Linked DNA regions of Homo sapiens: regions 1, 2, 4, 5, 6 and 7 are each linked to region 3. The links are contacts of gene promoters, found by promoter capture Hi-C in blood cells and fetal thymus (Javierre and others, 2016). All regions are on one chromosome and are shown on one strand. The core of a region is centred on a gene start or on the middle of the fragment in contact, and the rest is flanking DNA. Distances in the headings are between cores, read along the strand shown.

Region 1 (3,788 bases), core at 229-2,728, 390 kb after region 3:
TAGTCAGAGAAGGTCTTATTGAGGGGGTGATATTTGAGCTGATGCCTGAATGGTGAGAAGATTCAGACAGAAAGAAAAGCAGGTGCAAAAGGCCCGGAGATGTTCATGCATCTGGTGTGTTTAAGGACGGGGAAGTGTGGCTGGAGCACAGTGGGCCAGGGAGAATGCAGAGTCTGTGTAAGCAGTGACTGGGTATAGCAGGAGGGTGGAGCTTGAAAGTGTCCCCTGGGAGTGATTCAGAAGCACCTCCCTAATGGGATTGTGGTCCCCATCCCCTCTGACTCTTTGATGTAAATAAGATGAGGGATAGGAAAACCTGGCCTGATACAATTTCACATGTAGTACAATGTGGTAAAAAGAACAGTGGCTCTGAAATCAGACTCTGGGTTAGGCAGAATTCTAGCTCTGCCACTTCCTAGTTGTTTGACCTTGAGCAAGTGCTTTAATCTGTCTACATTTCACATTTCCTAATATGTCAAGTAAGAGAACTAATTCCCGCCTCGCAGAGCTACTGAGCCCCACTGCTGGTGAGCTTTCACCAGGGCTTTAGGCCGGGTGCGTGCTTATAGCGCCATCTTACGTTTATTCGGAGATCTACAGTGTTTTGTTGGAAGTGCAGTCCATCCACTGTCCCACTCCAGTGTCCTGGAGTTTTGTGTTTAGTTCTGAGCACCACGTTTTGAAGGACATTGACCTGAAGACTGCCTGAAAGAACAGGAGAGGCCCAGCCTTGGGGAACATACCTCCGTTCAGGGGGAGCAAATGTGGACTCTGAGGTTCCAATGCCAGGATCGTGAAAAGAGTGGGAGTGGGGGTAGATACAGATAACAGGTAGGCTGCAAGTAAAGAAATATCTTACTATGGTTCGATATGCTCAGGAATGAAATGTGCTGGCATGATTGGAGATGGGATAATGAGCAAAAGCTTGAAGTCAGTAACATCTGAAACATTTTCATCACTGAAAATGTGTGTGACTGTGACTCCAAGACTTAGAAACAAAGAAAATGGTTCTGCCATTGATAGAAATGGAAGTCATCGGAAAAAAGGAGAAAGGTGATGGATAAGCGGTTATAGCACATTTTAAGTGAAAGCAGAACTATAAAGCAGAATGATCTGGAGATGAAGAGGAAGGTCCAGGCTAAAGCTGTGGGTTTGGGAGTCATCCCGTAGAAGTCTGAACTCAAAACTTCTCAAGAAATAAAGTGTAAGGTGAGATGCAAGAGTTGAGCCTTAAGATACACTCACCTTTGGAGTCAAGAAAATGAAGAGGGACTGAACAGCAGAGAGGTACAAGACAGTCCAGCACCATAAAAGCAATAGGAAGCGTTTTACAAAAGAGGGGAGCAGTGTCCCATTCCACGAACTTCTACCCCATTCAATTCCTGCCAGCCAGGTCCCTGCCCCTCTCCCCTCTCCCATCTCTGCTTCTGGGTTTTCTCTCATATGGGTTTCAGTGTCTGTCTACTGATTTCTTCTCCATCCCTTTGCTACAGGGGGTGGCACCGAGAGCCGACCAGTCCTTCGCTACAGCAAGGAACAGAGGCCAACCACACTGCCCATCCAGCCCTTCGTGTTCCAGCACCACTTCCCCAAGCAGCTGGCCAAGGCCCGGGCCCTCCACAGCCTTTCCCAGCTCTACAGCCTCTCAGGCTGCAGCCGTACACAGCAGCCTGCCCCACTGGCTGCCCCTGCTGCTCAAGTCTCAGTCCCAGCTCCCTCAGGGGAACCGCAGGCATCCACTCCCCGAGCCACTGGCAGAGGTGCCAGGAAAGCTGGGTCTGAGCCAGAGACCTCTCGGCCATCGCCCCTGGGCAGCTACTCCCCCATCCGGAGTGTTGGCCCCTTTGGGCCCAGCACTGACTCTTCTGCCTCCACTTCGTGCTCCCCTCCCCCAGAGCAGCCCACAGCCACAGAAAGCCTGCCCCCATGGAGCCACTCCTGTCCTTCTGCTGTCCGGCCTGCCACCTCCCAGCAGCCGCAGAAGGAGGATCAGAAGATACTGACCTTGACTGAGTACCGGCTCCATGGAACAGGAAGCTTGCCGCCTCTGGGCTCCTGGCGATCTGGCCTCAGCCGAGCAGAGAGCCTGGCCCGGGGAGGTGGTGAGGGCAGCATGGCCACCAGGCCCAGTAATGGTACGAGCTCCAGCATCTCCCTACCCAACCCGCCACCTCACGCAAGCACTTCCACCACCTCCCCTTTGAGTGGTTGCTTACACTCTCACCTGGGGCCAGAGGTTAGGATGTCTGCATCCCTCCCTCAGCATCTGTAGATAATATCCACAGATAATCTAGTGTTTCATATGGGCCCACTGGGTGGATGTGAAACTCTGTCTCGCTGTCTCCTGCCAACTCTTGTCTTTCTGCTAATCTGTTCTGCTTCCAGCCAACCACCTATCCCCTCAAGCCCTCAAGTGGCGGGAATACAGGAGGAAGAACCCACTAGGGCCACCTGGTTTGTCAGGGAGCCTAGACCGAAGATCACAAGAAGCTCGGCTGGCCCGAAGAAACCCTATCTTTGAGTTCCCTGGCTCCCTCAGTGCTGCCAGCCATCTGAACTGCCGGCTGAATGGTGTGTGAGCAGGGTCCCCAGTACACCCGGGGCAGGCTCTGCCATGGCTGGAAAGGGCTAGAGAAGGGGTCAGTCCCAAAGGAACGTGTCTCAGACGGTACGAGGCACTGAACTGGCCTGGAACTCCTGCACTGAGAGTTGCTCAGGATTGATTTTTCTCTTCTTTCCAGGCCAAGCAGTGAAGCCGTTACCACTGACCTGCCCTGACTTCCAGGACCCCTTTTCCTTGACGGAGAAGCCTCCAGCTGAGTTTTGTCTGTCCCCAGATGGCAGCTCAGAGGCCATTTCCATTGACCTGCTTCAGAAAAAAGGTGCATACAACCCCCAGCTCAGGCCAGGGACTCTGCTGTCACTACCTCCTCACACTTGCCCTACTACCTAGCCAGTCTGAAACCTCTAAGTGCTGGCTGGGCCCAGTGGCTCACGCCTGTAATCCCAGCACTTTGGGAGGCCAAGGCAGGTGGATCATGAGGTCAGGAGTTCGAGGCCAGCCTGGCCAACATGGTGAAACCCCATCTCTACTAAAAACACAAAAAAAAATTAGCTGGGTGTTGTGGTGGGCGCGTGTAATCCCAGCTACTCGGGAGGCTGAGGCAGGAGAATTACTTGAACCCAGGAGGTGGAGGTTGCAGTGAGCCAAGATCACACCATTGCACTCCAGCCTGGGCAACAAAACTGAAAACTCCTTTTCAAAAGAAAACCACAAACAAATCTCCAGGTGCTGGGAAGGTGTTGGAGCACACAGGCTCTGGGGCCAGAGGAGGAAGCTGTGTGCTGTGTATCATGAGTGCATGTGAGTGAGCAAGGGTCATTCATCAGAGGCTTTCAGAGTCACGCTCCGGTCCCTTCCTGCAGTGAGCAAAGTCTCATGAGGAGGCTTCCATGTCATCAAAAAATGCCTCAGTGCTCTTGGAGGGGGCGGGTGAAGGTACTAGAGGGCCCAGCAGCTTGGGTAAGAGTGTTGGTGACATCTAGTAAGATGAAGATTGACAAGACCCACACTATTTAGCAAATAAGTGACCACTGAACTAAGAACATTTTTAGGGAGATGGAGAGAACTGAGCATAATTGTGGGCTGAAGATGAGCCTGTGAAGAGAGAGCTGAAGTTCCTTGCAAAGGCAGAAGGGGAGAATCAGAGCTCAGGGAGAAAGAACCCGGGCAAGAAGGGAAACGGCCACCTTCCTCCAGGACGCGAAGGGGATGCAAGTGGGCAGGG
Region 2 (3,645 bases), core at 178-2,677, 290 kb after region 3:
AGGACCCAGTTTAGAAATTAAGACATATTTTTATTTTCTCATAATCAGTTTTACTCATGACCACTTTAATAAAACCTTACTTAGACTAATAGAACACCTTGTTTGAACTGATGATTTTCAAACTCTTTTCTTAGAGGAGTCTTAAGGTCTGGTGCAGTGGGAATAGGGAAGATCAAGTGGATTTTATTCTATCCTCCTCATTTTGAAGTTCTTGCTTTAAAAAGAACAGCTTCATGTTTATCTATTTTATGAAATTTCAGTTGTAAAAATAGAAGGGGGTTCTATTAAGAAGTGAAATTTGAAAAGCACTGCAATATATAATAATCAGCTTTGATAATAGATGTTTAAATTGAAGACTAGTTAATAAATTATTTCTATGCTGTCTGATATAAGCTGCCTTTATTCTTATTAGTTATAGACAGATTAATTTCCTCTCTTAAACAGCTTCTTTGCATAGCTGAGCAGTTCCTGTAATGCCTACACTTGATCTCATAACTTTTCATGTTTATTTTTACTCTATTATTTAGACTCTGAAAACTCAAAAAAAAACCTTTTCTTTGTACACTCTTATCATTAATATCTGAATTATAAACTGCCTTTTTTCTTTATTATGGGAAACATCCCAGATCCTTTTCAAAATCCTTTGGATCTAGCAAAAGGGGTTTTAGAAAATTAGGAAGGTTCATTCAGCTCAGAATCTAGTATTCGTTCATTATACTTCTCTTTCTATTATGGAGTAAGTAGTTTTCAGCAGTTGATCAAAGTTCCATTTCCTAGTTTCTTAATGAAGAAGACAATCATGGTCAAGAATTAAGGAAGGTAACATGGGCAAATATGCTTTTGACAACATTAGCAACATACATCATTAGACAGTAAGCTAGGTCATTTAGCCTAGGCTTGTCTTCAAAACAGGATGTCTTCAAATGGGTGTGATGGCACACACCTGTAATCCCAGCAGGTTGGGAGGCCGAGGCAGGAGGATTGTTCAAGCCTGGAAGTTTGAGAGCAGCCTGGGAAACAGTGAGACCCCATCTCTATAAAAAACAACAACGAAACACAAAAACACAGGTGGAACAAGATGGCTGAATAGAAGTCTTTATTAATCACCCCCCCCACACACACTCCCACAAAAACACCAAATTTAACAACTATCCACATATAAAAGTACCTTCATAAGAAACAAAAATGAGTCGAACAATCACAATACCTGGTTTTAACATCATATCACCAAAAGAAGCATTGAAGACAATCTTGAATTGCTGATGCCACCATTCCCCCATCTCCTGGTGGCCATGCATGGTGCAGAGAACTTGTAAGCTTTGGGGAGGGAGAGCACAGCAATTGTGGAACCCTGCATTGAACTCAGTGCTGTTCTGTCATAGTGGAAAGCAAAACCAAGCTGAACTCTGCTGACACCCACCCATAGAGGGAGCATTTAGACCAACCCTAGCCAGAAGGGAATCGCCCATCCCAGCAGTCAGAACTTCAGTTTCGTCAAGCCTCACCACCTTGGGCTAAAGTGCTCTGGGGTCCTAAACAAGCTTGAAAGCAGTCTAGGCCACAAAGACTGCCATTCCTAGGCAAGCCCTAGTGCTGTACTGAGCTCAGAGCCAGTGGACATAGGGGGTCGGGGTGGGTGCACACAACCTAGTGAAACACCAGCCAGAGCAGAGAAGGGAGTGCTAATGCTACCCCTCCCACAACCCCAGGCAGCACAGCTTGCAGTAACAAAAGTGACTCCTTTCTTCTGCATGAGGAGATGGAAGAGTAAAGAGGCCTTTGTCTTGCAAATTGGAGACCAGGTCAGCCACAGTACCATAGGGCAGTGGACAGAGTCACGAGGCCCCCATTCTAGGCCCTAGCTCCCAGACAGCATATCTAGATACACCCTGGACCAGAAGGAAACCTGCTGCCTTCAAAGGAAGGACCCAGTCCTGGCAGGTTCATCACCTGCTGACTAAAGAGCCCTTGGGCCCTAAAGAACCAGCAACGATACCCAGGTAGTACATTGTGAGCCTTAGGTGAGACTGTAGAGTGGCAGCATCTAGACGTGCTGGCTTCAGGTGAGACCCAGCACATTCCCAGCCGTGGTGGCTATGGTGAGAGACTTCTGTTTGAGAAAAACAGAGGGAAAGGTAAAAAGGACTTTGTCTTACAGCTTAGGTACCAACTCAGCCACAGTGGGGTAGAACATCACGTGGGTCCTTGGTGCCCCTGATTCCAGCCTTGGCTCTTGGATGGCATTTCTGGACCTGCCTTGAGCCAGATGGGAGCCCACTTCCCTGAAGGGTGAGTCCCATGACTGACAGTATTCAACACAAGCTGATTAAGCCCTTGGGCCTTAAGTGAACATTGGTGGTAGCCTGGCAGTACCCTCTATAGGTCTTTGATGGTGGCCATGGGCACTGGCTCCTTTGCCTGTGGAAATGGGAGGGAAGAGTGGGAAGGACTTTGTCTTATGGTTTAAGGGTCAGCTCAGCCATAGTAGAATACAGTACCAGGTAGACTTCTAAGGTTTTTGACTTCAGTCCCTGGCTCCCAGGCTGCATCTCCGGACACCCCAGGGGCTGAGGAAATTTGCTGCACTAAAGGAAAGGACATAAGCCTGGCTGGCTTCACCATCTGCTGATTGTGGAACCCTGGGGCTTGAAGTGAACATAGGCAGTTGCCAGGTAGTGGTCACAGCGGGCCTTGGATGAGACCCAGTGCTGTGCTGACTTCAGGTGTGACTCAGCACAGTCCCAGTGGTGGTAGCCTCAGAGTTGCTTGTGTCACCCCACACACAGCTCTAGGTGGCTTGGCACAGAGATAGACTAAATCTGTTAGGGAGAAAGGAAAGAGAACAAGAGTTTCTGCCTGGTAATCCAGAGAATTCTTCCAGATTTATTCAAGACCACCAAGGTGATACTTCTATGAGTCTGCAAGAACTGCAGCATTATTGGGCTCTGGGTGCCCTCTAATGCAGATATGGCTTAGATCACAACACCCAAGTCCTTTCACATACCTGTAAAGCCTTCCCAAGAAAGATAGGTAAAAAGAAGCCCAGGCTGCAAAGACTATACAAACAATTAATAACTAACTCTTCAATGCCCAGACACCAACAAACATCCATAAGCATCAAGACCATTCAGGAAAACATGACCTCACCAAACAAACTAAATAAGGCACCAGGGACCAATCATGGAGAAACTGAGATATGTCACCTTTCAGACAGATAATTCAAAATAGCTGTTTTGAAGAAACGCAAAGAAATTCAAGATAACAGGAAGGAATTCAGAATTATATCACATAAATTTAACAAAGAGGCTGAAATAGTTAAAAAGAATTAAACAGAAATTCTAGAGTTGAAAAATATAATTGACATATTGAAGAATGCATCAGAGTATTTTAATAGCAGAATTGATCAAGCAGAAGAAAGAATTAGTGAGCTTGAAGACAGGCTATTTGAAGATACCCAGAGAAGACAAAAGAAAAAAAAATGAAGCATTCATACAAGGTCTAGAAAATAACCTTAAAAGGGCAAATCTGGCCAGGTGCAGTGGCTCACGCTTGTAATCCCAGCACTTTGGGAGGCCGAAGTGGGCAGATCACGAGGTCAAGAGCTCGAGCCCATCCTGGCTAACATGGTGAAACCCCGTCTCTACT
Region 3 (3,550 bases), core at 28-2,527:
GTTTAATTTTTAAGACCAGGAAGCAAACACAGAAACCAAATACATGGTTTTTTGTTTTCTGTTTGTTTTTTCTTTTGCAGCTGTGAGGAATTTTACTCAAATTAGATAGGCCTTGTTACCCATAATTTGGAATTCTCACTTGGATTTGACCAAGTGAAGTAGAGTTGGTCAATGGGAAAAAGACAAACAAAATAAAAAAAAACCCAACAATATGATCACTGAGCACTCTAATGGTAAGCAGAAATTAAGACCAGCTGGTTGTTAACTTTAGCCAAGACAAAAATCCCTATTCAGCTACTTACCTAGGGGTGCGTCTCAGGCTGAAAACGGCTGTCTACCATCCCAGAAGTAGGAAAAAAACCCCTCATCTTCCCTGTTGGAAGTGAGCTCAAACTCCATAAAAGAGTTACCTGCCTTCCCTCGTCATGGAAGCAGGAAAACTTGCCTTCCTTGTTGGAAGCAAGTAAAACTCCAAAATAATAATAATAATAATAATAATAATAATAATAATAGAGGGAGTTGTACAACAAAATGAACTTTAGATCTCGACCAAATTTTGGGAGATCAGGGATTCTCTGGAGGGGGTGCTCCTAGACCTTAGCAAATTGTCCTGTTGGTTTGAGCCATGGAGTTAGCTCATGTTGGTACCAAGCATGGATAGGAGATTTGTCAAAGATCAGAGGTATCTCCACTCACAATCCCTCCGTGGTTACCATCCTTCATTCAGTAAATATTTACGGACTGATTACCATACACTAGGCACTATTCCAGACATTGGAGATACAATGATGAGCATAAAAAACGGTCTAGATAAGAACTGAGGTCTCCAGACATACTTTATGCCCACTCAGTTTTGTCTTTTGCCCTAGTTGCTAAACAAAACTTAACTTTGCTGTGCGGTGCGACTTCGTTAACTTAAAATTACAGGCTGTCAGCTATGACCGCTAGACTCTAAGAAAGTCCAGTGGAAATCCTTCAATGAAAAGAATCTGTTCTTGGGTGGAAGCCCCGCTCATGCAGGAGGAACAGAGGGCTTCCATTCTCGCGTCACACAACTGAGGGTCAACCCCTTGCTCCCTGCAGTAAGCCTGATTAGTGGGCGGAGCTTCCTTCAGGATCGCAAGAAAGAAAGGAGGAAGGGGACCCCGCCTCCTACGTGCTCGCGGGGGGGGGCGGGGTCGGTGGACTGGGCGTGAGTTAATTGGCTGGGGGGCGGGGCACCACGGGTTGGCTCCGCCCAGGCGCTCGCGCGGATCCCGGGTGGAATGACGGGAGGGAGTCCCGGCAGCTCCTACCTCCCAGCGATGGCGTCGCTGTGCCGCGCCCAGTCCCCAGCCTGCCGGCCGGTACTCACCGCTACCCGGAGTTCGCTCAGACGGTGAGATTTGGGGCGGGTCCGAGGCAGCGGCGGGACGCTACCTGCGACCGGGACCATGAGGAGCTGCCAGACCCGTGGGGCCGGTAACGAGAGCAGTCGCGGCACCTGCTGAGAGGAAAGAGGGAGCGGTCCGGCGCGGCTGGGGCGCGGCAGAGGCTTGCCCGATCCTCGGCCATGTCACTGCTCTGCGTGCGCGGTGAGTGCGCGGACTGAGGCGGGGAGGCGGGGTGTCGGCGTAGAGGTCCCCGCACCCTTCCAGTGGACGTCCGGTGACCGTCTCACCCAAACTTTACATCCCGTCCGTGCTTTGGGGGTCTATTATTTTGGCAATCACTTAACAATCACTTGAGTTCTTTCCACTTTCTTGTTTTCCCCCAAGCTCCTGCAAGGGACGATTAGCTCTCCATTCTGGTAGCCATGTGACAATGTTGTTGGACTGCAGGCTCAGATCCTATTAAACAGTGACTGGGGTTCTCTAGTGAGAGTGGACGAGTTAGAAGACCGCGGATGGTTGGTGCCTGTGAATGGTGGGCAGCCTCTCATTCTTTTCCTCCTCCTCGCACCGTAACGCTACAGTATGCTTAGTAGCAGGTTCTTTTTATCACACTTTGAATGCGTTAGTGGTACAGCTGTCACATCCCTTCTATTGCTTGTCTTGTCCCCTGCCACTTCCCTGAACACTAACCGGTAGTATAGGCTAAGATTATTCTTCTGTTCCACTTGGGAGGATGTGGTGACTGCTTTTGAGGATAAGAGGTATGATTTATTTTTATTTTTATTTTAGCTTGCCTCACAGTAACTCAAGGTGAAGGGCCATTATTGCTTTTCCCCTGAGGACACTTGACCCATCTAAGAAGATATCTTAAAGCAAGAGCTTTGGGGTTTAAGATGAGGCATGGTACGCGAACTAAGTTCTATGTGGGTAGAGACTGTTTCTTATTAGTTTTTGTATTCCTGGTGTCTGACGTAGTAGAAGCTTAATGCTGGTTTTGAATGAATGCAAGTACTGTGACTTCAGAGAGATTATCTGATCAGGAAAACACAGGGTTTGGATTAGCCATTGAATTTGATCTCGGGAAATTCAGGTTACAGCCTATCATATCTGATGTGTCTTGATTATGAATGAGAGAGCATTTATCAACTAGAGCCTTTACCTGATATCTTTTACTGGAGAGTTCATATTTCTTTTGGCTCTACAGATTAGAAGCATTGTTGTTGTTTGTGATTTCTCCAATAACGATGTTTCCCCCAGCTACTGGCAGATGAAACTGCTTTGCTCTGTTCTCTTCCACTATTTTGTTGAATCTGCATTAACCAAAATGGATTTGGCCATTTCCCGGGATTATGAGATATACAGTTTTTCTTCTTTCATGGTTGATTTTTCATTAATGAGAATTTTGCTTTGCTTTTAGTAAGACATTTTCTCTCAGCAGCTGGGAATCTATTTATTCCTTTAGATCCCTGCTGCTGAGTAGCAGGATTTGGGAGAGGTTGGACTTTGCTGTGTCTCTTGGACAGTTTAATTCTCTACGGCCACACTGTATTACAGAGCTGGTCCTTATGAAAGACTCTTTAGGCAGGAGCACTCGTGAATCAGAAATTCCTATTTAACTGAATTTATATAACTACTGGTGTTTTCATTTGTTTTAATAGCAGGCAGGTTTCATTGTCTAGAAATTCTGCTATTTAGCTAACTTCTTTCCTTTTTAATGTTACTTTAGTGAAGTTTCTTCTTTTTTGAATCTGGAGAAACGAGATCAGCAGGCCATTGTCTTTTTGAATAGAGATCTAGAAGATTTTAAATACTGAAACAAACAGGTACCTTATATGCAGATATTCATATTGAATGGCAAAGTATTCATTTTGGGAAAACTTACAGAAATGAATTGAAATACATCTTTATTTTTATTTCTTTTTCTTTTTTTGAGACAGAGTCTCATTCTGTCACCCAGGCTGGAGTGCAGTGCTGCGATCTTGGCTCACTGCAACCTCCACCTCCTGGGTTCAAGTGATTCTCATGCCTCAGCCTCCCGAGCAGCTGGAATTACAGGAGTGAACCACCAGGCCCGGCTAATTTTTGTATTTTTTGTAGAGACAGAGTTTCACTGTGTTGGCTAGGCTGGTCTTGAACTTCTGACCTCAAGTGATCCATCTGCCTTGGCCTTCCAAAGT
Region 4 (3,489 bases), core at 208-2,707, 330 kb after region 3:
CAATCAGTCTGATTGGTTGCAGAAAGCAGCCAAGCAGAGGCTGAAGTGAAGTTACAAAGGTCGCACACCTGTGCAAACATCTGATTGGTTGCAAGAAGCAACCAATCAGAGGCTAGGGTGAAGTTACAAAGTTATACTTCTATGCAAAGTTAGACTCGGCTGCAGTCAGTCTAATTGGTTGCAGATAGCCAATTTCCCATCTGCTGGGCAGAAAAGTTGGGTGGGGGGTTTGTTACTTAGGTGTGGAAAGTTAGGGTTTTCCTTTCAATTTAGTTCCAGGAAGTTGGCATGAACCAGTCTTAGGTTCCCTGCCTCCAGTCCCTATTCTCCTGCCTCAGAACCATCACCCAACATCCCTAGTGGGTAGCAGGGGAGAACCCTCTCCTGCCCCGCTCATGCCTAACTACCTGTAACAGTTTGGCTGTGTCCCCACCCAAAATCTCATCTTGAATTGTAATTCCCATAATCCCCCTGTGTCAAGGGCGGGAACAGGTGGAGGTAATTGGATGATGGGGCTGGTTTCCCCTGCGCCCTTCTCGTGACAGTGAGTGAGTCCCACAAGATCTGATGATTTTATAAGCGTCTGGCATTTCCCTTGCCTGCACTCACTCTGTCCTGCCACCCTGCGAAAAGGATGGCTACTTCTTTGCCTTTTGCCATGATTATAAGCTTCCTGAGGCCTCGCCAACAATGCGGAACTGTGAGTCAGACCTCTTTCCTTCATAGTATTTCTTCATAGCAGTGTCAGAACGGACTAATACAGTGGGTTTCCCATAACATTTGCAGGACTGCCTGCCCCATCCCCCTCTGGCTGTAAACAGCAGGAGTCACACACAGGCATCTTCCATGTCCCCCACACATCCGGCCCTGAAGGGCAGGGGGCGCATGGGTTCTACGTTTCATCAGGGGTTCCGAACCCTGGCTATGCACTGGAGGCCAACCCCACCTCACCCCACCCCACTCCACCCCAGTGGTTCTGAGTCGGTCCAGTGTGAGGTCAGCCCTCCTTCTGTTGTTTGGTTAGTTTCCACACTAGGTTCTACTGGGAAGCCAGCGTTGAGAACCGCCGCCTCAGGCGAAGCTGGGACTCACACCCACCGGCCCTGGAGGCCCGCGGAAGGTTTCCCTGGGTTCCAGCACCCGGGAGCCGCGCGTCGCCAGGCACCACCCCGCGGGGGCGGGCGCGGGCCGCAGAAGATTGGGCCACGGCGGAAGCCTCTCCGCTCCCTTAGCGGGAAAGCTCTGCGCGTGACTCGGCTGCGCCCATCGCTGCGGGAGCCGGGGAGGGGGCGAGCACCTTAGGCCGGGCGGACCGAACCAACGCGCCGCCCGGAGGGGCGGCCTGAGGGCAACCCAGATCGGACCATCGCGCCACGCCGACAGGGGCCGGCCTTTCCAACCCGCCCGGAGGGAGGGGCCGCCGGCGCCTCTAGCCTGCAACGCGACCCCTGGAGGGCGAGACACGCCGCCGCCGCCGCCGCCGCCGGCGCGGAAGGACGAGGCTGAGGCGAGAAACGAGGTAGGAACGCCTCTCCGGAGGCGGGCAGGGTCCCACAGACCCACTGCCCCGCGTTCCAAGGTCTCCCTTAGGGGAGGGCCTGTCTTCCCACCTATGTGCCTTCAGCGCCTGCCCTTCCCTTCAGCCCTTCCCCCTCGGCTGCACCCGCCCTCTGCGTCCGCCCCGACCCCCTGGGCAGACCTCGTCCCCAGCCCTTCTGACCCTTGGCCTTCTCCTGACCCTTCAGCTCTGCGTCCACCGGACCTTCAAACACCCAGCACCCACCGTCCCTTTGGGCGCCACCCCAGATGCATCCCCAACCGTCTCCTCAAACTGCCCCCTTGGGGACACCCTCCCCCCACAAAACGACTCGCGCCCAGTAGTCACCTTGGTACCCCAAGTCCCTGTGACGGCTTTGGGGAAGCGTGGCCGCCCGGCACCCAGGCCGGCGACTGCAGCGGGGGCCTCCCTACTGCCAGTTCCCGGCCGGGTCCTCTGCTCCCTCCACCCTTTTAGCCCCTGCCTCCCTTTATTATCCGCCCGGCGCCGGCGTTGCTTCAGTCTCTGTCTCTCTGTCATCCAGTTTTACCTGGAGAAAACCTTTGGCTTGGCAGTAACCGTCCCCTACTACTGCACTCACTTGCCGCGAAGGGCACGGTGATCCTGTTGCCCACAGTTGGCTGTGGCCCTCCAGGCCGGCCCTGCGGACACGGGGAACTGTCCTGGGGGCAAGGACGGTACACTACTCATCTTTGTATCCCCGGTCCCCAGCACGGTGCCTGGCACATGGTAGTGTTGCTGGTGGAGGGTCTTCACTACCAGTTGTCCTTTGCGTTTTGAACAAGTAATTGAGCAGCGGAGGAATGAAACGCAGGAACAAGTAGATCTGAGTCAGGCAAGGATTACCACTATGTGAACAGTGTCCGTGATAAAGAACACAGGCCTTAAAAAAAAAAAAAAGGCGGAATTTACAAAGGACAAAGGGCCTGAAACCTGTTTTTATTTATTCCTAGGTGGGTGACCTGAGCAGATTTAGTTTCCTGGGGGTTTGGGTTCCACGCGGAAGCAGGTGGTATCGCTGAGGGATGAAACAATGGCTGGAAAGCTGTAGGAGTTGATAAGGTAGAAAGTAGTTACCTAATTAGTAGTGGCATTATTGTAACTGGGGCTCAAAGTATTAGCAAATAAAAGTAGTGACTGGATTTTCTTAGCCGGCTCCTTAGATATTAAGCAGTGGTGGATGGCTTAATGGAAGGAAGAGCAGATCCAAACAGTATACCTGGTATTCTGTTAGTTATGCCCGTCCTGCTGTATGGCCAGCCACTGTTTCTCTTCTGTTTTGAGCCAGGTTAGGATCCCTCTGATTTCTGTGCTGGTATTTAAGATTCCTTTTTGAAGCCACAGTTGCCTTAACTGGAGGCTGGACATGTTCTCATTCATCCATTGCTAGTTTTGATGTATCCTTTTCCGCTTTCTGTCTCCCACCCTCTTACATGTCTTTATAAAGTCTTGGATCAGGCCAGGCACAGTGGCTCAGCCTGTAATCCCGGCACTTTGGGAGGCCCAGGTGGGCGGATCACTAGAGGTCAGAAGTTCAAGATCAGCCTGGCCAACATGGTGAAACCCCATCTCTACTAAAAATACAAAAATTACCGGGCATGGTGGTGTGCACATGTAGTCCCAGCAACTCAGGAGGCTGAAGTCCCAGCAACTCAGGAGGCTGAGGCAGGAGAACCCCTTGAACCTGGGAGGCAGATGTTGCAGTGAGCTGAGATCATGCCACTGCACTCCAGCCTGGGTGACAGAGCAATGCTCTGTCTCAAAATAAAGCCTTGGATCATAGAAACCCAGTGTGGGGAGGGGCTCCTGATCTGGATGGATTAAGCAATACAATTTTTTTTTAACAGTATCTTTTTAATGGCCTTTTCTACTTTTTCCTGTCTAGGCTTCCTGTTAAGACCTCAGTTACCCCAGAACACCCTGGGTTATTT
Region 5 (3,474 bases), core at 262-2,761, 270 kb after region 3:
ATCTAGTGACATAAGCTAGGGAGAGAATGTCTTAGATTTCAGGTTTATATATAACTCCCAGAAAATAAATACTGTAGTTTTTCTTGCACAAATGAAAGCATAGTTCTACTTTTTTCACTTAGACATGTATCTGACAACACATACAGATATCCCTCATTTATTTAATAGCGACATTGTTTTCCATTATATTGATAAACCTGAATTTATTTAGTCAGTCTTCTATTGATGAACATTTAAATGTCTCCAGTGTTTTGCTATGCTAAATGGTGCTGAATGAACACCACTATACATATATTTTGGCACATTTGTGTGACTGTATCTTATGAAAGTTTCCTAAAAGTAAATTGTCTGTTTCAAAAGAAAAACACACTAAAAATTAAAAATTATCAGAGGCCAGATTGCCCCCCAAAAGAATTATATCCATTTATGTTTCTACTTAGAGACTGCCCGTTTCTCCACATTCCTGTCAAACTCATTATTATCAATCTTTGTCATCTTTGCCAGCTCTTAGATGAAAATGACATACATGTTAATTAGCCTTTTGTATTTCTTTTTCTGGAAAATACCTATTAATGATCTTTGCCCACTTCCTATTGAATTGTTCATTTTTCACTTATTTATGTGTCTATAACTAAGTAATTCATGAAAAGATATATATTGAAAAGGCATGCTCCAATACTCCATCCTTGTCCATATCTGCTCCCCTGAGGGAACCACTGTTAGTTTTCTTGTGTGTATTAATCAGATTAGTGTTTCTTTGTGCAAATAAAGCAAATACAAATATATAGTCTTATTTTCCTATTTTTACACTATTCTGAACCTTAACAGTATATCCTGGAGATGTTTTCATCATCATAATTTCATAATAGTTTTTTTCTTTTTTTTCCTTTTTCAGCTATAATATATAGTATTTCCTCTGCAGATTTAACATATTTTATTTAACCAGTTCCTTTTAAATGGACATTTGGGTTGTTTTCAATCTTCTATGATCACAAGCAATGGTTTTATACATAATATAATTCCATGCATGTGTAGCATAATATAATTCCATGCATGTGTAGCTATGTATACATATACATAGCTATAATTATATAAAAATATATGTCTGCGGTCTCTGTGGGATATTAGTTTATGATTTCTGAGTGAGAGTGGTATATTAGTCCAATCTCACACTGCTATAAATAACTACCTGAGACTGGGTAATTTATGAAGAAAAGAGGTTTAATTGACTCACAGTTCCTCAGGCATAACTGGAAGCATGACTGGGACGCCGCAGGAAACTTACAATCCTGGCAGAAGGCAAAGGGGAAGCAAGCACCTTTTTCACGTGGTGGCAGGAAAGAGAGAGAGAGTGAGGAGGATCCTATACTTTTAAATCATCAGATCTTGTGAGAACACAAGAATAGCATGAGGGAAAGCCGCCTCCATGATTCAGTCACCTCCTACCAGGTCCCTCCCCAACACTGGGAGTTACAATTCAACATGGTATTTGGGTGGGGGACACAGAGCCAAACCATATCAAATAGTTCTGGATAATAATAGTATCCAAGATATGACCATGAAAGCAGGTTTTTCTCTTCTCTATCTTCTAGACCTACGTAACAAGCAGTGGGGACAGTAAATCTAGGTTTGGGCATCAGACAGATCTGAGTTTGAATATAGCTCAGCCTTTACTAACCTTAATGTCTTAGGCAAGTTTGTTAACTTCTCTGATCTTCAGTTCTTTCATCTGTAAAATGGGCATAATAATGTTCACCTTGCATGGTGGTCGTAGGAGTTAAGTATGGTTCTGAAAATGTTAGTTCTGTTTCTCCAAAAAACTATTAGCCCTTGGAAAAAGGGTATCTCATTTATCTCTGTATACACAGTATATTTGTGATACAGTTTCTATCACAATGTTGTGCACACAGCCAACATTCAATAAATATATATTGAATATTGAATGAGTGAATGAACAGATCTGACTGATTCTGATATATTTAACACCATTTCATTTCCCTGGCCCTGAGCATTGCTCATTTTCCTATTTCTCTAACTTCTTCCACTGTGACTCCTTGTCATCTTCCTAACTCCTAACTACTGATTCTCATTATATCCTTGGCCTTTTATTCTCTTCTATTTTCCCAATTAACCTTCAGTCCCATATCACTGCCCAAAGAAAAAAATAACCAAACCAAAATTAACCACCTCTTATCATGTTTAAATTTTATCACCTCTGCCAAAAGGACTAAACTCTGAGGAACTTCATAGTTAAGGAGATGTTATTAGGATATTGCTTCTGGTTTTACATTTAAGAGCAAAATGAAACGCTCTAGTTGCCAAGTTAATAAATAAATACCTGTACTTCTATCTTGAGGCAGAATGCTACCTACGTGAGTAGAAACCTGAAATATATTAAATGGCTATAAAATCAAATGGAAAATCAACAGTGAAGGCTAGCTACATCAGTAAGGCCACCTCTCAGAAGATCTTTGGGTCCAAGTATCACAGCCATCTGGACTTAAACACTGAGAAATTCAAAGTATCTTATGATCAAAGAAAGCTATTTCCATGTTAGAATTACATACTCTCATGATGAGAAGGGCCTGTAGAGATCATTTTACTAGAACTTCGTTCAAGACAGACCATGAGCTTCTCCAGAAGGGATCCTGTCTAATTATTTTTCAGCCTCCACTAGTATAGTCCAGCATAAGGCTGTGAAAAGAGCAAGCCTTGAGAAATGCTATACTGTCTGATTGATTATTATTTGGAAAATCATGGAGAGAACACCAAGGAAATCTTAGTTTTGGCTTGGATCTCTAAACTCCTAAGTGCTAAGCTATTTGACCAGCTTCTCATCCCTAAGGAAATAGGTAGGTTCTTCTTTTAAAAAAAACAAAACAAACAAACTTGTATTTAAGTTCAGGGGCACATGTGCAGGATGTGCAGGTTTGTTACATAGGTAAGCCTGTGTCATGGGGATTTTTTGTACAGATTATTTAATCACCCAGGTATTAAGCCTAGTATCCATTAGTTATTTTTATTCTTTTGTTCTGTCCTTTTAAATGGAAGAGGTAGGAGATGAGCCCTGAACTTAGGGAATTATTTGGTCTTATTCTCCTGCTTTTAGAGCTCTTAGATTTGAGCTCTGACATCTTAGGACAAATGATTTAAGACTCCAAGGTAGAAAGTAAGATGGTCCTGTGAACATCTTGAGATCAGAATTGAGGAAGTAGACAAGTTCCCATTTTCACTGAGCAAAATAGTAGCTTAGATATAAGCCAAAACTCTTTAAATCCTCTTAGGACAATTAAGGGCCAAATGATTCTCCAATGCTGATAGTGACCCCTATAGAAACCTTCAGTGGGCTAGGATTGAAAGACAGTTTTTTGCTTTTAGCATCTGACGTCCTTCAACATTGCAAAAAACACAGAAAGGCACACCAAACTGAGTTTGCTCAGCTAAGAAAAGCTTTGTTAGAGAGCTCTGGATGCA
Region 6 (3,463 bases), core at 747-3,246, 370 kb after region 3:
GAGCTCAGGAGTTCAAGACCAGCCTGGCCAACATGGTGAAACCCCATCTCTACCAAAACCACAAAAATATAGCTGGGTGTGGTGGCATGCACCTGTAATCCCAGCTACTTGGGAGGCTGAGGAACGAGAATCACTTTAACCTGGGAGGTGGAGGTTACAGTGAGCCAAGATCAGCCACTGCATTCCAGCCTGGGTGACAGAGCGAAACTGTCTTAAATGTCTCAAAAAAAAAAGCCAAAGGGAAAAGAGGAGTTGAATAGGAAAGGATGACTGCTGATAGTGTTGGATGATTCCAATATTATAAGTTAAAAATGATAACTGCTTCACACACTTCAAATGTTATTAGAAAAAAGATTTCTGGTGGTTAAGAAACAATGAAGGAGAGAGTGGAGAGAGAATTTTAAGAGTCCATTTGTTAAGGAATTTTGGTGTCGAGGCTGGGTGTGGTGGCTCACGCCTGTAATCCTAGCACTTTGGGAGGCCTAGGCGAGCAGATCACTTAAGCTCAGGAGTTCGAGACCAGCCTGGGCAACATGGCGAAACCCCATCTCTACTAAAAAATACAAAAATTAGCCAAGCATAGTGGCGCATGCCTGTAATCCCAGCTACTCGAGAGGCTGAGGCACGAGAATCGCTTGAACCCAGGAGGCGGAGGTTGCAGTGAGCCGAGATCGTGCCACTGCACTCCAGCCTGGGTGACAGAGCGAGACTCTGTCTCAAAAAAAAAAAAAAGAAGAATTTGGTGTTGAAAAAAGAAAGAGAGGACTATCTGACGTCCTTGGATTGACATGCAGTGATAGCCTCTGCTTTCTGGTACCCTGATATTCCACCTCTCACCCATACCCCCAGTTATGGGGTTCTCAAAGACTTCAGTCTCTGTGGAGCTGAGCAACACCACTCAAGCTCCTACAGCAACTGCCACTGTTTTTAACAGCTTTATTGAAATATAATTGACATACCATACATTTTGCCATTTAAAGTATACAATTCAATTGTTTTAGTATATTCACAGTTGTGCAACTATGACTGTAGTCTAATTTTGGAACATTTCATCATTCCCAAAAGAAACCCCACACCCATTAGCAGGCACTCCCCATCTCTCTGCCTCTCCAGCCTCTGGCAGCCACTGATCTACTTTTTGTCTCTATAGATTTGCCTTGTCTGGACATATCATGTAAATGGAATGAAACAATATGTGACCTTCTGTGTTTCTTCTTTCACCTAGCATGTTTTCAAGGTTCATCCATGTTGGAGCATTTATCAGGACTTCATTCCCTTTTATTGCTCAATAATAATTCATTGTGTGTACCACCTTTTATTTATCCCTTCTTCTGTTGATGAACATTTTGGTTGCTCCTAGTTTTTGACTATCATGAATAATGCTACTAGGAATACTCATATACAAGCTTCTGTGTGGATGTTTTTTGTTTCTCGTAGGTATATACCTAGAAGCAGAATTGCTGGGGTCAAATAGTAACTCTTTAACTTTTTGAGAAACTGCCAGAACTCTTTTCCAAAGTGGTTGCACCATTTTACAGTGCCCTCAGCAATGTGTGAGGGTTCCAATTTCTACACATCATTGTCAACATGTGTGATTGCCTGCCTTTTTTTATTTTAGCCATTCTAGTGGGGTCAAGTAGTATCTCACTTTAGTTTTGATTTGTACTGCCTAATGATTAATGATGTTAAGCATTTGTTTATATAAGTACTTGTTGACCATTTGTGTGTCTTCTTTGGGGAAATGTTTATTCAAATCCTTTGCCCAGCCAGGCATGGTGGCTCATGCCTGTAATCCCAGCACTTTGGGAAGCCGAAGCAGGAGGATCACTTGAGCTCAGGAGTTTTGGACCAGCCTGGGCAACAGAGTGAGACCCCCATCTCTACAAATAATACACACACACACACACACACACACACACACACACACACAATCCTTTGCTCGTTTTTATTTATTTACTTATTTATTTTTTTGAGACAGGTTCTCACTCTGTCACCCAGGCTGGAGTGCAGGGGTGCGATCTCAGCTCACTGCAACCTCTGCCTCCCAGGTTCAAGCACCTCTTGTGCCTTAGCCTCCCGAGTAGCTGGGATTACAGGTGTGCACCATCACACCCAGCTAATTTTTGTATTTTTTTGGTAGAGACAGGTTTTGCCATGTTGGCCAGGCTGGTCTCGAACTCCTGACCTGAAGTGATCTGCCTGCCTTGGCCTCCCAAAGCTCTGGGATTACAGGTGTGAGCCACCATGCCTGGCCCCCTTTGCCCATTTAAAAATTGGATTGTCTTTTTATTACTGAGTTGTAAGTGTTTTTAAATATATTCTGGATAGAAATCCCTTATCAGATATATGATCTGCAAATTTTCTCACATTCTGTGGGTTTTCTTTTGACTATCTTGATTGTGTCCTTTGAAGAACAAAAGTTTTAAATTTTTATGAAGTCAGTTTATGTTTTTTTTTTTATTTTTTCATTTTGCCAGCAGGAAGTCAAAGTTTTTCTGTTTTTTTCTTTTGTCACTTGTATTTTTGATATCATGTCTAAGAATGTGTTGCCTAACCCTAGGTTATGAAGAATTACTTCTTTGTTGCCTAAGCTTCTTTTTTTTAGATATGGAGTGTCACTCCTGTTGCTCAGTCTGGAGTGCAATGGTGCAATCTCGGCTCACTGAAACCTCCACCTCCTGAGTTCAAGTGATTCTCCTGCCTCAGCCTCCCGAATAGCTGGGGTTACAGGTGCCCACCACCACACCCCGCTAATTTTTGTATTTTTAGTAGAGACAAGGTTTCACCATGTTGGCCAGGCTGGTCTTGAACTCCTGACCTCAGGTGATCTGCCCGCTTCGGCCCCCCAAAGTGCTAGGATTACAGGCATTAGCCACCGCTCCCGGCCGCCTAAGCTTCTTTTTGATAGATTTTTTTTTTTTTCACATGGAAAACAGTCTTCTCTTTCAAGCCTATTGAGTCAAGTCTACCCACCACTTATTCTGATTTACACACAAGGAGCTTCTCTTTTTTTTTTTTTTTTTTTTGAGACGGAGTCTCTTGCTCTGTAGCCCAGGCTGGAGTGCAGTGGCGCCATCTTGGCTCACTGCAAGCTCTGCCTCCTGGGTTCACGCCATTCTCCTGCCTCAGCTTGCTGAGTAGCTGGGACTCCAGGCGTCCACCACCACGCCCGGCTAATTTTTTTTGTATTTTTAGTAGAGACGGAGTTTCACTGTGTTAGCCAGGATGGTCTCAATCTCCTGACCTCGTGATCTGCCCGCCTCGGCCTCTCAAAGTGCTGGGATTACAGGCATGAGCCACCGTGCCCGGCCAAGCATCTCTTTTTAGATTATTCTTGTTCAACAAGACTTCCATATGCCAAGCATAAGACACCTTCTATATGCCAAGCAGTATGCTAGGTTTTATGGGAAATACAAAATTAAAATGATATTCTTATATACTGGATAATGGAGATGTACAGATG
Region 7 (3,387 bases), core at 461-2,960, 440 kb after region 3:
ACAAATATGGAGTGGGGAAGAGGGCACGGGTATAGATGAAACAAGATTGGCCATGAATTGCTCATTGGAGAATCACTGACATAGAAGGGTAAATGAAAGTAGGTACTTTCACCTGGGCCAGGTCAAATATGGCAACAGTACAACTGAGGCAAAGGAAAGCCAATTTTGCACTATGGGTTTCCAACAAAATGGTCTTACTAATCCAAGGTAAATAAACATTCATTTTTCTATTCTGTGTGTGTGTGTTAAGACATTTTCCACCATACAAACAACAACAAAAGGTTTTTTTGAGACAGAGTCCCGCTCTTGTCGCCTAGACAGGAGTGTAATGGCGCGATCTTGGCTCACTGCAACCTCCGCCTCCCGGGTTCAAGCGATTCACCTGCCTCAGATTCCAGAGTAGCTGGAATTACAGGCGCTCGCCACATCAGGCTAATTTTTTTGTATTTTTAGTAGAGACGGGGTTTCACTACGTTGGCCAGGCTGGTCTCATCCTTTCCTGATTGAACCACAGTCACAGCCTCCTTCCTAATCAGTCTCCCGGCCTCCATACAACCACCGCAATCATCTTACAAAAAATAGGCACCTGGCTCTTTGGCTTGGCATTACCATCACCAACTACTACAGTAATTCTCAAACGTGATAAAGGGCCAGAACCCAGTGTCGGTTAAAAGATCTATGATATTAAACAAAATGAGGCATAAATTCCTAGTGTTTACAGATGTCATACAATAAAAAGCAAATTCACAAATTAGTTGTAGATGTTAACATTAATGTGATGAATGAGCGTGTGCTGAAGACCAAACGCCTCCAGAAAAAAGAACAGGATGCACGTGCCCCGTGCAATTCTGTGAGGTTGGCCTGCCTCCACCGGCTGTGGAAGGATTGCGAATGTCTCCCATTCCTCTCGCTCCAAACTTGTGCAATACCTTCCCTTGTACAGCGCACCAAGACAGCATCTGGCCTTCTCTTGACTCTAAGGCATCATGTATCATTTATGACCGTCTTTATTCTTTTCTCAGTAGCCCTCGACAAGCGAGTAGTATTTCTTGGCTCCAAGTCTCATAAACGTGTAACCAGACTCCATTGGAAGACGGTAACCCCACGCGATACGGACTGTGCTTGTATTAATTCTCTTTTAAGCTTACTACAGAAATATCAATACAGTACTTGAGAATTCCTGCAGGACTCAGCCTCGCTTCCTCGAGGAGCTCTCAGCCTGCCTCCGCACTCGAGACGGCAGCTTTCTCTCCCTCCGCCCACCGTTCCGCCGCTAGGTGGCAGGCGGCTCAACGACGCCCTTTTAAACCGTTTGCCCCGGAGTGGACCGCCGGGATCGCGTGTCACCACCCAACCCTAGCGATGATTGGCTATTTCGCCGAGGCCGGAGGAGGAACCAGCGGCAGAACCGGAAGCGTCTGGTACGGCGAGTGCACGGAGTCCTGAGACTGCGTGCGCACCCAGGCACCGCGCCGACTTAAAGAGGCCAGTTGCAGCCCCTCCTCCGGCCTTAGGGGGCAGACCGTGTTCCTACGTGGAGGGCGGAACCCTCACACTGAGGAGGGCTGGGTCACACTGAGGGGAGGAGTCACCTTGAGAGGAGGGGTCACAATGACTAGTGGATTTCCTCGGAGGTGGGGTCTCACTGCGTGGGAGGAACACAGAGCAAGGGGGTGCAGCACTGAGGGGTTCTGACACACTGACGGTGGCAGTGCCACACTGGGGAAAAGTGCCCCCGAAAGGGAGGTGTCTCACTGAGGAAGGGAGGGGTCTCCGAGGGACAGCGTTCTTTGAGGGGGGTGGGATCTTGCGGAAGGACGGGCTTCCCTGCAGGTGGAGGCTTCTCTCTTAGAGTCTTTTGGGCAAAGTAGTAAGAGGGAGGTCCCGGCTGGGTGGTCACAGGGCGGAGGACCTGGACTCTCTTCTTTATTGGGAGGCGGCAGGATGAAGTGAGGAGGAGTCGGGGCTAAGCTGGGTATGGGCCGGCCAAAGGCTTCCTATAGCCCCGGGGTATCACAACCTCCCGTGAAGGTAGAAGGTGTTAGGGAGGCCAGAGGTTCAAGGTGTCGGAGTCGAAGAGACCTGGGAAATGGGCAGGCTGGGCCGGGGCGCAGGCCAGGAAGGTGGACAGGTTGCTAGGCTACCTCTGATTGCGGCTGGGCCTGAGGGGCCTACCTTTCTGCCCCGTTGGTCCCTGGAGCCCAGGAATCCGGCAGGTTTCTGAGCCCGACCCTCAACGGACAGTAACCCAGGGAGGAGAGGGGACTCCCTGGGCAGCTAAGCTTCGCATGCGCACCATCAGCCCTTAATTCCCTCCCGTTATTCAAGCTCAGGCCGGAGCTTATTTGACCCGGGCGGCCCAGGGCATCGCGGCCGGAAAGCGGGGAGGCGGGGGTGCGCACCTGAGGGGGCGTGGCCGCTGCCGGGAGGCCGGGCTGGAAGGAGTTAAGCGGAGGCCCGGCCCAGCCCCGCCCCCGGCAGGCCGCGGAGCCTGATCCCCGGCGGCTAAGCGGAGCAGCCGCCGCCCGCCCGCCCGCCCGCCTCCGCCCGCGGCAAGCCAGCCCGCCGGCGCCCCGGAGCGCTGCCGCCACCGTCACCGCCACCGCCCGGTCCAGGCCCAAGCCCAGGCCCTGCGCGGAGCGGAGCGGCGCGGCGTCCACCCGGGCCCAGCCAGCCGGCGCGGCGGGGGCGGGTCCAGGATCTTCGGCGGATCTTCCATTCTCAGGGCGGGAGCCGGAGTCCGGGCGCCCGGGATCGGGCTGGGCCCGCGCCCATGGCAAGCGCGGCCTGCCCGGGCCCTGGGGACCCTGCCATGTGAGGCAGGCCCGGGCTGGGGGCCCGGCCATGGCCGGGGAACGGCCCCCACTGCGGGGCCCTGGGCCCGGGCCTGGAGAGGTGCCGGGGGAGGGGCCCCCGGGGCCGGGGGGCACGGGCGGAGGCCCGGGCCGGGGCCGCCCCTCCTCCTACCGGGCTCTCCGCAGCGCCGTGTCTAGCCTGGCGCGTGTGGACGATTTTCACTGCGCGGAGAAGATCGGGGCCGGCTTCTTCTCTGAGGTCTACAAGGTAGGACCGGCCGAGAGGGCAGAGGGGCGGGACCGAGCCTTCAACCAGAGGCTGAAACTAGGGGGCCGGGAGTGCGGGGAAGAGGGTCCAGACTCCGGCGACCCGCCCGACCTGCCCGGCCCTCGCCGGCTGCTCCTGCCCCCAGGTTCGGCACCGACAGTCAGGGCAAGTCATGGTGCTGAAGATGAACAAGCTCCCCAGTAACCGGGGCAACACACTACGGGAAGTGCAGCTGATGAACCGGCTCAGGCACCCCAACATCCTAAGGTGAGCGGCCCCAGTCTCTGGGCAGCTTGCTGGGCGGGAGAGAAAGGGAAAGATCCC

Evidence for each region. Contacts are between HindIII fragments. The CHiCAGO score rates a contact against its expected background, and 5 or more counts as called.
Region 1: a fragment that was not itself captured here is called in contact with the fragment with the promoter of UNC13B in region 3 in 3 of 17 cell types (monocytes, endothelial precursors and megakaryocytes); the score reaches 7.2 in monocytes.
Region 2: a fragment that was not itself captured here is called in contact with the fragment with the promoter of UNC13B in region 3 in 3 of 17 cell types (M2 macrophages, M0 macrophages and M1 macrophages); the score reaches 6.7 in M2 macrophages.
Region 4: a contact is called between the fragment with the promoter of RUSC2 here and the fragment with the promoter of UNC13B in region 3, in 2 of 17 cell types (megakaryocytes and endothelial precursors). The highest score is 5.5, in megakaryocytes.
Region 5: a fragment that was not itself captured here is called in contact with the fragment with the promoter of UNC13B in region 3 in 1 of 17 cell types (M2 macrophages); the score reaches 5.4 in M2 macrophages.
Region 6: a contact is called between a fragment that was not itself captured here and the fragment with the promoter of UNC13B in region 3, in 1 of 17 cell types (M2 macrophages). The highest score is 7.4, in M2 macrophages.
Region 7: a fragment that was not itself captured here is called in contact with the fragment with the promoter of UNC13B in region 3 in 2 of 17 cell types (endothelial precursors and erythroblasts); the score reaches 6.1 in endothelial precursors.

What each region holds. Positions count from the first base shown.
Region 1 is chr9:35,553,567-35,557,354 of GRCh38, forward strand. RUSC2 (RUN and SH3 domain containing 2) reads left to right here. Exons shown (of 12, transcript NM_014806.5): 3 at 1,494-2,135; 4 at 2,386-2,571; 5 at 2,742-2,882. Among named protein-coding and RNA genes, the nearest start is that of CIMIP2B, 8.4 kb to the right of the region's middle. The HindIII fragment of the contact is 1,113 bases long and covers 923-2,035 here.
Region 2 is chr9:35,451,269-35,454,913 of GRCh38, forward strand. It overlaps the pseudogene ATP8B5P. Among named protein-coding and RNA genes, the nearest start is that of RUSC2, 37 kb to the right of the region's middle. The HindIII fragment of the contact is 224 bases long and covers 1,316-1,539 here.
Region 3 is chr9:35,160,732-35,164,281 of GRCh38, forward strand. It overlaps UNC13B (unc-13 homolog B), which reads left to right and starts at 1,278. Exons shown (of 40, transcript NM_001371189.2): 1 at 1,278-1,574. The coding sequence starts at 1,553. RefSeq lists a silencer at 1,144-1,273. The HindIII fragment of the contact is 6,795 bases long and covers 1-2,352 here.
Region 4 is chr9:35,488,654-35,492,142 of GRCh38, forward strand. It overlaps RUSC2 (RUN and SH3 domain containing 2), which reads left to right and starts at 1,458. Exons shown (of 12, transcript NM_014806.5): 1 at 1,458-1,519. LOC105376026 (a long non-coding RNA gene) reads right to left here and starts at 2,974. Exons shown (of 2, transcript XR_929580.4): 1 at 2,778-2,974; 2 at 2,466-2,603. RefSeq lists a silencer at 1,127-1,426. The HindIII fragment of the contact is 5,552 bases long and covers 668-3,489 here.
Region 5 is chr9:35,433,938-35,437,411 of GRCh38, forward strand. It overlaps the pseudogene ATP8B5P. Among named protein-coding and RNA genes, the nearest start is that of RUSC2, 54 kb to the right of the region's middle. The HindIII fragment of the contact is 3,873 bases long and covers 1-3,448 here.
Region 6 is chr9:35,532,529-35,535,991 of GRCh38, forward strand. The region is part of intron 1 of RUSC2 (RUN and SH3 domain containing 2); the gene reads left to right. Among named protein-coding and RNA genes, the nearest start is that of CIMIP2B, 30 kb to the right of the region's middle. The HindIII fragment of the contact is 1,185 bases long and covers 1,405-2,589 here.
Region 7 is chr9:35,602,776-35,606,162 of GRCh38, forward strand. It overlaps TESK1 (testis associated actin remodelling kinase 1), which reads left to right and starts at 2,487. Exons shown (of 10, transcript NM_006285.3): 1 at 2,487-3,063; 2 at 3,209-3,330. The coding sequence starts at 2,845. RefSeq lists an enhancer at 1,723-1,832 and silencers at 2,313-2,562, 2,593-2,892, 2,913-3,082, 3,017-3,311, 3,093-3,352. The HindIII fragment of the contact is 1,139 bases long and covers 1,142-2,280 here.